Linked DNA regions of Homo sapiens: region 2 is linked to region 1. The links are contacts of gene promoters, found by promoter capture Hi-C in human tissues and cell types (Jung and others, 2019). All regions are on one chromosome and are shown on one strand. The core of a region is centred on a gene start or on the middle of the fragment in contact, and the rest is flanking DNA. Distances in the headings are between cores, read along the strand shown. Region 1 holds the start of RASA1 (RAS p21 protein activator 1). Region 2 overlaps MEF2C (myocyte enhancer factor 2C).

Region 1 (6,310 bases), core at 1-2,500:
ATTCCTACCCAAGAAACCTGAAACTTCAAAAACTTTTCCTAACAAACCACAGATGAAAAGGACAAAGTATGATTTACCCCTTCATTTCCACTTCTTTTCTGGAGCCAGCTTCCCAAATTCCTGAACAGCAGTCTTAACTTACTGGTTAGTTGGAGGAGCGGTCAACGGTATGGCCACCTCTTCCTCCTCGTATTCTGGTCCATCCAGAGAGTCACCTTCGTCCACTGTCCCGAGGCCCGCCCCCAAAGGGGGCAGGTAAGGGGGAGGGGGCAGAGGGGGAAAACCGCCGCCTGGCCCGAGAGTCTCAGCAAGCAACGAAGTGGGCAGTTTGGTGAGAGCCATGTCTCCACTAGGTCCAGCAACAGCAGCACCGGCCACGCCAGCAGCAGCACCAGCTACGCCAGCAGCAGTACCTCCCCCTGTCAGTCCAGCTCCCCCCAGTGCCCCTGCCACAGACCCGGCTCCTAGGAACTCTGACCCCAAAGCGGCTCCGCCACCCAGAGTTCCAGCCACTCCGGTCTCCACCAGCCCAGGATAGGGGGCGGCTGCCACAGGCAGGGCCGCGGGTATCTTCACCCGACACACTGCGGGATAGGCACTGGAGCCCGCTGCCGCGCCGCCTCCTCCAGCTCCGGCTGTTACCGGGCCGCCCTCCTCACTGCCGGCCTCGGCCGCCATCATGTTGAAGCCCGCTCTACTCTGCCCTACCCTGCCCGCCCGGGAGCCCCAGGGGCCACCAGGCCCGGGCTCCGAGCAGCCCCACCCAGACGCGTCTCCCCTTCAGCTCCCCAGGCTGAGGAAACAACAACAAAAGGAGAGAGCCCGCCGCCGCGCCCCCTCCTAGGGCCACAGCCCAGGCTCCCCAGCTGCCTGGGTTACGGGAAGCCAAGTGGGCAAAAAACCCAACGCCTGCACAAACGCCACCCAAACCTCACCGCACACACCCACACTCACGCACACAAACACATGTACAGAAGCGAAAACTTCCTCGCTGCACTAAAGAGGAAAGGAAGCACAGGGAAAGAGGCTGAGGCTGCTACCGCTCCTTCAGCCGCCACCACCGCTTCTTCACCACCCCAGTTCCGGCCACCCACACCGCAGCCACCGCCGGTGCCGCTGCTGAGGCTGGGGCCACTGCAGCCGCTTCATCCTCCACCAGGCAGATGAGAGGGGTGGGGGGGCAAGAGAAAGGGGGGCGGGGTAACGAGGAAATCGACTGAACTGCTCACTACCTGGAGCTCTCAGTGAGTGAAACGGGAGAGAGAGAAAGGAAGGCGGGGCAGGGGAGGAGGGACGGAGGGAAGGAAGGGCGGAGAAGGGAGAGGGCAGCTTGTGCGCAGGCGCGTTCCCGGAGCGGGGGCGGGGGGCCGGGCCGGGAGGAAAAGGAAGAGTCCAGAGGGAAGGAAGCGGCGGGGACGCGCGGTGCGTGGTCGCGCTTGCTGTCCTCCTCCGGTTCCAAGCGTGTGGCGGCGCGGCCGCATCTCCTGTTGGCGTGGCCGGCGGCGCGCGCCTGTCTCCCGGGGCTTTGTTTGATGGGCGGGAGAAGAGGGAAGGGTACCTGAGCACGCGGGTGCTTGGCGCTGTTAAAGCCGGAGAGACCAGAGGGGGACCAGGAGGCGGTGGAGAGGAAGGAGGGGGAAAGGGAAAGGAAAATGCCCAGAAACTAGTTCCGTACTTCCTGACCAGTGGAAAAAACAGCCTTAACCAGCAGCGCAGAAACCGGGCAGGGGTCAGGTAGCTTTGAAGATCGGGGCAGTACTATTAATGTTTTCTTTTTCGTTGCATGCTATAAATCACTATGACTATCTCACACACACACAGTTAAAATAGATTCTGAAACTCCAAAACGAAATAAAGGGCACCATATGAGAAGGGTGAAGAATTTGAGTAGAAATAGTGGTTATGAAGTAAGATTTCTACCAGTATTTGCATACGTTTTTCTTTATCAACTGTCTCATATACTTACCTATGCCATTATAAGTCTGTTGGATACTGATGAAGAGGAGGAGGTGCCACAGAAAACACTAATCAATGCACTTTTGTCCTGGTTTGTGTGCAAAAGACTGCAGGACGTGATCCACAATGCAAGCACCTTCAACAAGTCAAATGTCAAGAATGTCCCAGAATGCTAGTTATAATTATATATCGTTTCAAAAGTAGCAATAAACTGAAAACTCATTTTTAATACAATTAAGGAGAAGGGTGTTATTTTGTCTTTTACACTAAAATGTATACAAACTATGCATTCATGTAGAGGGAGCTTCCCATGGTTTGAAATTAACAATATTGTTAAATTCTCCCAGGAGTGATCCCACATTAAATACCATTGGATATTGATCTTTGAGATCAATATTTTCTGTGCTAAGGATGATCAAACTAACACTCAGGATGGCAAGTGGCTGTGATAGAAACCCAGGAAAAAGAGAAAAGACCACTAAAAGACGTGACAAGATACAGGCAATGCATTGCCTTTGTAAGTTTGCACAGGCCTATTTACCTAGTCAATGACAACAATCCAACTTGATTAGGAGTAGTCCTGGGGCCTCCATTACGCATATCTCTTAGCAGTGTGCTACCTGGGAGAAGGAAGATGGACCAGTCACAGGAGCTAGAGTTCTCAAAGTGAATTCAGGCCGCAACATCCTAGGAATTCAGAAATGCCACCTCAGACCTTCTGAATCAGAAAATATGCAGCGATCCATTTTAACAAACCCTCCAAGTGATTGTTTGCACACTTAAGTTTGAGAACCACTATATTAATGTATAGTATACTAATCAAGAAGGAGGTATGCAATACCTAAAAACGGTTCTGAAAGAAATAATAAATGTCATTCATTAGGTGGGTAGGTAAAATAGGCGGGTTTTGAGTTGCCAAGCTCTGTGCTGTTCTAGAAATGAGAATGAAGTAGTTCCATAATACTTAATAATGAAGTACTACTTATGGTGGCCTCCCTGAGAACAGTTTTCTTTTAAACTTAGACCCTCAGTTAGACAAGACTATCAAAATACCTACTCTACTTACTGTCTGCTGTGTGAACACCAAGTGCAACAATCCCAACAAATCTTAATATAGCCTGTGCTTGAAAACCTCCAGTGTGTTAGCATCCCAATCCTCCAACATTCCTGTCCCAGTCACCACTGTCAGCCCTTGAATGCAGGACATTGAACTGGCAGGTTATCACCGGCTCTTGGTTATCACTGATTTCTAAATGTTCACACACCCTCTGTATGTTGCCTGGGAGTCCAGGTGAGGCTCACTACTCTTACTGCAGAATTACCTCCTCCTTTTTGACAATTCTTTAGCACTTGTAAAGGTCAATATTTAATGCAGTCTAACACCTATCAAATGCTCAATTAAATGTTTTCTAGACTTTTAGGTGTATGTACCTACAAAACTGTACTGCAAATACAACCTGTGGTCTATTCTACTGCCTAGCCCAGTCCTAGGCAACCTCAGTATGCTACTTTGAACAGATCTTCATCCTTTTAACAAATACCAAATTTGATCAGCTCCCATCTTTGGAAATCAATTTCTTAACCAGTAGGAAATAACTACTATGTCTATTTGTAAATCAGCCTTATACCAATATCTTACCTAGTTTTTGTTTAGCCTTAGAGTTAGCCCTGTTCTTTTCCTCCAAAGAAATTGCCACATATTTTTATGAGGTATTTTCAGATATTTAATATATTCCTATTATTGGATAGATCTAGGCTCTAATCTTTACTATTGCTTGTGTACTTTCTGAATCTCAAATACGTTGTCTATCTTTATTTTCATTTTTTCCAAAAGGATTTAATGTTTCTACTTAATTTTTGTCCATTGCCTTTCTTTTCTACCCACCTTAACTTTCTGCCCAGTTAACAAAGGGAAGTAAACTATCTTAATTAAATTCACAGATATTAAACAGGGAGGTATTGAAAAACAGAATAGTACACAAAAGAAAGAAAATTCAAAATATATTTTACCTTTAGTAAAATAAGCTATTATATCTGTGATTTTAGAAAAGTTACTCTGGATCTTGAAACATAGTATTTAATGAAGACTAAATAATAAAAAGTGCTGGACAAAAACTTGTGTATGAAAAGAAACTGAAAATTTAAGAAATGAAGTTGGCTCATTCTGGTTTCATTGGCAACTGAAATATGAATGTGGCCGGGTGCGGTGGCTCACGCCTGTAATCCTAGCACTTTGGAAGGCCGAGGCGGGCAGATCACAAGGTCAGGAGATCGAGACAATCCTGGCTAACACTCCAGCCTGGGTGACAGAGCAAGACTCTGTCTCAAAAAAAAAAAAAAGAAAAAGAAATATGAATGTACTACGTTCCAAAATATTTTATAGTTTTGATATCTTGAGTATGTGGAAAGGTAATTCTAACTCAGTAACATAACTGTAATTTTAGAGGACCTTAGAGCATAGGTAAGAATAGTTTCTGATGGGAGGACTAACCAAGAAGTAATAAAGAGCTTACTGCTGTGTTTGAAGAATGCCAAATTGTGTTCCATGCCCTAGTACATATTGAGTTACACAAATAGCCTTCCAAATTTACCTAAATAGTATCAAAAGGTTTCATTGACCCAATAATTTTGAAAGAAAGCCTTTACTTCTAACCCTAATGTCCCCACTGCATTTATTGACTTTATCTTAAAACCCTCCAGAGCACAAATTTTTTTATTACAAAGATCTTATGAGAAAATAACATCGAGGAGATACAGGTTAAAGGAAATACTTTGATGAAAAGGCAAATAACTCTGCAGAGATTACAATATGTGGTATAATAACTAAGATTTATGAAAATTATAAATACCATAGAGAAATTGAAGAACTGTGTGATGATCTCTGAGGCTGTAAAATAAATTACAAGGTAAATTATCCAGAGCTCTCTCAAAACATTCAAACCAATATATGAGTAAAGAAGATTAGAACAGTTAGATCTAAATATCTCTTAAAATATAAAATAATAGAAAAATATATTTTTTTTTTTTACTTTATTCCTATTTTGTCTTTATATTGCAGATACTTCATTATTTTTTGTCAGAACCTTTCCTCCTTCATGATTTCTAGTCTCTTTTTCTTTACCTATTATTTTACTCTGACCAGGCACATTTATGTATTTTCCTTTCTTTGCCTGGCTCCTATATATGATAGTACCTCATGGTAGAAGTAAAGGAGAAAAGGGAACGGAATGGTTTCAAGGCAAAGAATGTGGGAGAGTCGGGTGGGTAGGACTTTGCCATATTTCCCTCATTATTACACTCCCATTTTTCACAGATAATATTTTTTGAATATGCCAGCAACAATTTAAATAGCACCTGAAGCACAGTCATGAAATCCAACTAAGCTTTGGTCTTTTCACCTCAAGAATCCTGCAGTCTCTAATTCAAGTTACATTCTTTGGTCTACCTGAGAGTCTTCCAGGAATGCTTTCACTTGCAAATTCAGTTAGTATGGCAATACACACCGCTCTTTAAAGTAACTATACAATGAAAGGGCTAAGTGGAGCCTTGAGTCAGATAATTATCATAAATAAGGTGAGAGCTTTAACTACTGCAAATGCACTGTAAGTAGTGTAACTTTACTCAACTAAAAACAGCTTTCTATTTCTAACTATAATTATTTCTCAATCCGCGTGCTCTTTTGAAGACTTTTCAACTTCACTTGTTATCTTACTAGAACTCTTATTTTTCAACTTCCTATTCACTGTTTATCGAATAGTTTTTAAAAAGCAATGAAATATGACATGTAAATATAATGGTATGTATCAGTGATGTTCAGACTTCTGGGTTTCATAGACTACTAAAGTTTCCACAAAAATTGAGAGACTACAGAATTGCCAATTATGAGTTTGCCAATGTTGTGAAGAGAGAAGTATTTTGTTATTACAACAAAACTGCCATTTCCTGCTGCTTTATTTCATAAAAGGAAAGGACATTTCAAAGCAGGGAGAAAGAGGGAAGGAGGAAAGAGAAAGGATGGAAATAATTTTAGAAAAAAAAGGAAAAGTCCTTAGAATTACATAAATTTAGCTTCATGAAATATTCATCATATATTATGTTCTTATTTTATCTTTTTCCATGGATGCATTAAAAATTGGCATTGAAGGCCAGGCATGGTGGCTCAAGACTATAATCCCAGTACTTTGGGAGGCCAAGGCAGGAGGATCACTTGAGCCCTGGAGTTCCAGACCAGCATGGGCAACATAGTGAGACCCTGTCTCTATGAGAAATAGAAAAAATTAGCCAGGTGTGGTGGTACATGCCTGTAGTCCCAGCTAATTGGGAGGCTTAGGTGGGCAGATAGCTTGAGCTCCAG
Region 2 (6,352 bases), core at 1-2,500, 1.5 Mb before region 1:
AGCACTGCAGCATTACCCATTCTTCACTAAGACAAAGTGAATATCCACATTTTTCTTTCTTAACTGACTGAAAGTTTTATTTATGCAACCTGAGTTCAAAATAGAAACACACTTTCAAGAAAATTGAGCTGTTTCTTTGATGTAATAAAAAGCTCACTTTCTCAGGATTGTTTAACATTTCTACATCATCAAATATGTACATACCTTTATACTAGATTGTAGTTCTAATAAACTAGAATTGCGGACTATGCTACTTCAGAGCATTCGTGGAATACTTATTTTTGGTTTATAGTATATTCCTTTTAAATTAGAATTATCGCTGATGCTTTATCTCCCCTCCCCTCAAAATTAAAAATATCTATAATAACGATAATCCTAATAGAATATTTTGGAAATTGAAAATGTTTATTCTATTTACCATTTGATAATTTCTAAATTTAATATTTTCCCTTGTTGTTTTATTCTTTAATCTAGAGTACTCTCTGAGTAGTGCAGACCTGTCATCTCTGTCTGGGTTTAACACCGCCAGCGCTCTTCACCTTGGTTCAGTAACTGGCTGGCAACAGCAACACCTACATAACATGCCACCATCTGCCCTCAGTCAGTTGGGGTAAGCAATATTATTTTTTATAATATAATTTTAGAATGTATTTTGAAAAACAAATGACAGTCTCTAAATATGTGCTTCAATATCCCATTAACGGGTATAAAACTCTACTTTATTGAAATCCAAGTGTAATTTTCAGATCAATACTTTTCAAGTAGCTTAAATCTTATATACCTGTTTTTTAAGAGGACAGCGAGCTCTGTAATAATGAGGTAAATTCTTTCCTTATTGTTTTAGGCTACATTTGTTTCCACTTCTATCAGTGATATAATTTTTATTTAGTTTTCACACAGTTCATTTGGGACATAAGAAGGCATTTATAGTATAAGCTTAGATATTTGAGAATTTTTCTTTTTTCACATAAACCATATGGTTTATGCTAATGTTAACCTAATACACATAGGAACAACTAGTCAATTGATACACAGGCTTCATGTATTTATAATGTACTCATAGTATAGTTGTATACTTATAGATATTTTAAGAAATATATGTATATAATACTAACTAGTACATATAATACTAATTACCTAAATTTGGATATAAAAATAATTTTTGTTTTATGTAGTCAGAGGATGTATCTTTCTGCCCCCTTGTGGTAGTTTTCAGATATGTCTTTATCATAGAAATGACTCTTGTCATTTATCTATGGAAACGTTCAAACCTTTAAAAAGCTCTGAATTCACAATTCACACTATTTCATATAAAACAAATCATTTTTTTAAAAAAGCTTAAAACGTTAACTGAAAGCCTGACTGTAAATTTAATAAGTCCAAAATTGCAATTAATCTTCAAAAGAAAATACCAGGAGGATATAAAATATTTAAAGATAACAAGCTTTTATATTTTAAAAATATTCTGTCTGCCTAGCCCACTTTTACTTTTCTGCTTAGCCATTTGTTATCGTTAATCACTTAGCTGTATTAGTTAACTAGTTATATATCCATATGTCTAAGGAGACAGTGAGAATAAAACACTGATTAGTATAAAAGTCACTGATTTATACCACAACTTTGTGTCTCTTATGTTTGCTGGTGCCCTCTCTCCCCCCACCCACTAGCTTTCACATGATAGTGATTTAGCATATATTAGTGATCTGATTATGAAATATTCACCCGTACACTGTTTGCTTATGTTCATCCTACCCGCTAATCACTGTCATTGAAAATCTAACCTTTCATTTAAATAGTAAGATAAATTCACGTGATACTGTTGGTCAGCTTTCTTGAAAGATAGTTAACTTTGAAGATACATTACATATTGATCAGCGCAGAGTTTTATCTTTTTAGGACACTTAAATTTTCTCTGGAATGTTAACTATTCAAGTAGACATTAACTGTGGGAACTTCTTCAGGTAATTATCACCAAGCACATAATTCCATCCAGGCAACTAAAAAATATGTACATGTATACATATTTTGTACAAAGTATCAACTGCTATGGCTTAGCAGGGAATCCACTGAACATGATTCTTGTCAAAAATAAACATAACTGCTTATTTCCCATTTTTTTCACAAAATTCATCCATTATAGGGCTAGATTTCCCTAAAAGTTATCAATGTCAAAAGCCATATTATTTTCTCTGAATGTGGCTTTTTTTTGTTTTCAATAGTACCTGATAATTTATATTTTTACATATAAACACATATTTATTTACATATTTTAGCTGTACTACAATTTTAAAACTCTTTTCTATTACAAGGAAGAATCTAATTCTCTGCTGCCTCTAATAGAGGTTTCAGAAAATGAGAAAGGAGGGACAGCCTTAGACAGAAAGGAACTGAATTACAACAGCCAAAGGTTAAGCATTTTGTTCAGCTCCCGGTTCCTTTCAACACTTAATTTCGTTGTGCTTAATTTGACTCTTAGTTTTCTCTGTGAGTTTTAATTGCACTTAATCACTTCCCTTACCCCTCAAATCAATGGAATGACCCTTCCAGTCCTTCCACTGTTGGCCCTTCTCTCTCTCTGCTTCACACACACTCTTTTCTCCCTCTCACAATCACACACAGAGTAGCTTTTTGAAAGGAGGTTCCTTCACATGGACTACCTCATATTCACACGATTAAATGTTAAACTGTTTTTTTAAAAAATCCCAAGCTGCAATACTTATGTAAAGTAATTCACATGAGCATCCTTAATTCTTTACAGTGTAAATCAATTTAAAAAGAATTGATACATTTTCCAGGCCAAAGTTGTCGCAGAGATTTGTGTTGCGGGCTCACATTCTTTTGGCTAGAGACAATGTTCATAGCAGAGTGGAATATATTTCAGCTCCACCAAAGTAGATATTCCCAGCAGCCCAAGATGGTTACCACAATTCTTTCTCAAAATTGCAAAACCATAAACAGAGTTCTTCATATTTTGTCCATGGAAAAAAAGTTCATTTTGTCCTTTGGAGCTTTAAGTCTTCAAAGCTATACTTTTAAAACCTAGTATCTGATTTTATCTAACCAAGCTAAGTAAGCAACACAAATTTATTTGCTATAGGGAGAGAGATGGCTGACAGAGGAACTTGCCATCAAGAGTTAATGAAAGTCCTTTGAATACTAATATTTGATTTAGTGTAACACTAAGTTTTAGTGTTTTTCTAAACCACCACCTATAAAAAGGGCAGCCTGTTTTCTGGAAGCATTTCCATACGTCAACTTTGTTGATGTGGGTGTTCAGTACATACTGAGAGAGATAACTCTGAGTAGAGATGACTTATAAAAGGTTAGGTTAAATATAGTTTGATAGTCTAATTTCCAGGCGGAGGCAGTAAAAATTTTGAATAAAACTATCCAGTCATGTTTGATTTCTGAACAATTATGGGAAAGGGTAGGAGTTTTCCCAATTCAAAAGCATCTGTAATAGATGAAAATTTGCATAGAGGACTTGATATGGGTAACTTGCATATCTGGCTTCTATCTCCCCACCCACCTCTTTATCACCCACCCACACATATGCAGTATTTCACAATTATCAGGGTCTATAATTATTCGTGTCTATATTTTGTTCTCAAGTAGACCAACATGCTTATATCTGAACCTAGCATATATGCAGTTAAGTTATTTTAATGCTACTTTTTTCTTTTCAAGAAAATACTTCTTTGTTAACAGAGACTAGCCATTCTATTTTATATCCTATGTCACAGTATAATGAAGCTGAATCTAAGATATCACTTGCATTTTACTACTGTGGATTTAGTCCCCAGAACTACTCAAAATGCTTCATGTATGTTTTCAGTGTCAAATGAAATTCCACCAAAAGATAAATTTAAGCTAGTCTGTTTGTAGGAAGGGATAACCAATAATTGTTACATCTTTCATGGGGAAGATACACAGCTAAACCTATACAGGCCAGTTAACATAGGAAGATGATGCAAAGAGGTGAATAATGCAGCTTCCAAAAACTGTATTAAAGAAACAGAATTTTGGTTATATTATTTTTCCCTTACCTTGTCTAGATTAACTGCTTAGACTGTCCAACTCACCAATTTTTTCTTCTAATTTTCTATGTCACCCTCCCTGTGAAGACATAATCTGTATGTCAAAGAGCAAGCAAAAGTATTTATTGACATATCACTTTTTATTTTCAGACTCCTAATTCATATTCATTATTAAATAGTTGTGTGATTCATAGCAGAAGCATTTAATTAAATTTTAGTGAAATGGTCTTTCTTAGAGCCAGGAAAATTCTTTATTCCAGAAATCAAAAGACGATTTCCTCAAACATCAGAATGAATCACTAAGTAACTTTGAACCAAGATAAAATAGTCTACCATTATGAATCCTTTTGAAATACAGGTGTTCCCTCTCCCCATTTTAACAAGGCTTATTTAATTAAAACTTTTGGAAAATTAGTAAACTGATAGACTATAAATTAATAAGCTACAAATAAATAGCTCCAAATATAAACAGGTGTTTGAAAATTATATACAGTCAGTGTAGTTTCTTGATATAAATGCTAACACTGCTTTGATTATATAAGATCATAAAAGCTAGAGAAAGAGACGCTTATTAAGGAAACAAATAATTCTCCTTTATATTATTCTCTACATTAGCTCATCTATTTATTAATAGGAGAAGGAAAGTAATTCTTTGCCAGTAGGTGGTGCTTTTGTACAAAACATCACTCAAAGATAAACTCGTTTCTGACTAATTTTATATCACTATACATCTTGAGTTTGTATTGCATCTCCCAAAAAGCCAGCCCCAAGTTACTTCACTTTTTTTCTGAAATATATACTTTTTCTCTCAGTGGTCATAATGACATTGTTAGTGCCAACTAATTCTCTCCACTGGAAAGCAGCATAATTACATACATTAGTAAGTAGGCTTGCTTTCCTTTGTTTAAAATGGGTGTGTCTGTATGGATAATTCTTCACTTGGATTCTTCCTCAGTAAAAGAGAGTACCATGCTCTTTTGACAATATAGTCAAGTAATCCTGACTCTAGCTCTGGAAGTCAGTGTAATTAGTGTAAGAAGAGTAAAAGCATCTTAAAATTGATGCGAGCAATGCCACTATGGTTTATCCTGATCAAAGTCATTGTGATTGCTAATCTACACTTAAGGGCTTAATACTTTTTTCCTCTAGAATTCCAAGTTTCTAAATTTTCCCAGATTTTGGAAAAAGGAAAAATTATTCTCTCTGGGAATATATGAGGATTAAGGATTATAAACACAGTAAAATCACACTACATCCTTCTTGGCAACAAGCTTTCCTTAGGCAACACCAGATTCATCAACTAATGCCAATGATAAATAAGAGGAGTGGTAGCCTAAGAACCGCACGCATCAGGGAGTGACTAACATTAATAAAATTGAGGTCATTGTGGAACACAAAGTATTTTCATCTCATGTAACTGCAAAAGGATGAAGAAAGTCAAATTATCAGTTTTAATGGAGTAGAAAGTCTTAAGTGTTTGAAAACCAACGTTTAAACTTTCTGCAGATAATTTTCAATTTCCCTCCCCCTTTCCATTTTTTCCACCTCCAAAGCTTTTTACCAGATACAGTTATTGTGCAGCATTTGAGTTCTAGTCATTTAAAATTTAACTCCCTTCACTTTCTCTGAAGACTATGTGATTCCATCTGTATGTGCTTATTAATTGGAGGCAAATATTTATATTGATAATAAGCTTTTAAAAATAATATTCAAACACAAGCATTAGTAAATCAAGGAAGTCTAATTCCAGAGCTAAACACTGTATCTAAATGCTTAGAAATTTAATTTTTAGAACTAGTCTAGGGATAGAGTCCATGAACACAGAAAATGCTTTTTCCATTGTGTCTTAAACCTTTCTGAAATGGTAACCTATATGTTTAGGGAGCCTCTCGGAGACTAGAGATATAATTCATGAGGCCTGGACCAGTTAAATGCTGTAATTACTACCGGGCAAATCAACAAAGGCATCCTAAATCGCCCTGAGAAGGCGATGCCCTTATGTGCTTCCAAGCACGTTTTCTTCACTCTGGGCATGCTCTGGTGTCTATGCGAGTCTTTAAGCTGATGTTTGATTTAATTGTGAGTTCCTGGGGCCTCCAGGCCTCCTTCATCTGTAACTGGGTTTCCTTTCCTCCTACAGAGCTTGCACTAGCACTCATTTATCTCAGAGTTCAAATCTCTCCCTGCCTTCTACTCAAAGCCTCAACATCAAGTCAGAACCTGTTTCTCCTCCTAGAGACCGTACCACCACCCCTTCGAGATACCCACAACACACGCGCCACGAGGCGGGGAGATCTCCTGTTGACAGCTTGAGC

What was found. The method cuts DNA at HindIII sites, captures the fragments that hold promoters and counts their contacts. A contact is called where the count stands out against the background at its distance.
Region 2: a fragment that was not itself captured here is called in contact with the fragment with the promoter of RASA1 in region 1 in 1 of the 25 tissues and cell types used here (hippocampus).

What each region holds. Positions count from the first base shown.
Region 1 is chr5:87,262,823-87,269,132 of GRCh38, reverse strand. RASA1 (RAS p21 protein activator 1) reads right to left here and starts at 1,250. Exons shown (of 25, transcript NM_002890.3): 1 at 143-1,250. The coding sequence starts at 681. RefSeq lists enhancers at 479-528, 286-1,173, 1,227-1,521 and silencers at 709-888, 1,229-1,478. The HindIII fragment of the contact is 7,176 bases long and covers 1-6,270 here.
Region 2 is chr5:88,722,751-88,729,102 of GRCh38, reverse strand. MEF2C (myocyte enhancer factor 2C) reads left to right here. Exons shown (of 11, transcript NM_002397.5): 10 at 475-610; 11 at 6,178-6,352. It overlaps MEF2C-AS2 (MEF2C antisense RNA 2), which reads right to left. Exons shown (of 4, transcript NR_146284.1): 4 at 6,272-6,352. Among named protein-coding and RNA genes, the nearest start is that of GSCAR, 29 kb to the right of the region's middle. The HindIII fragment of the contact is 4,253 bases long and covers 1-3,376 here.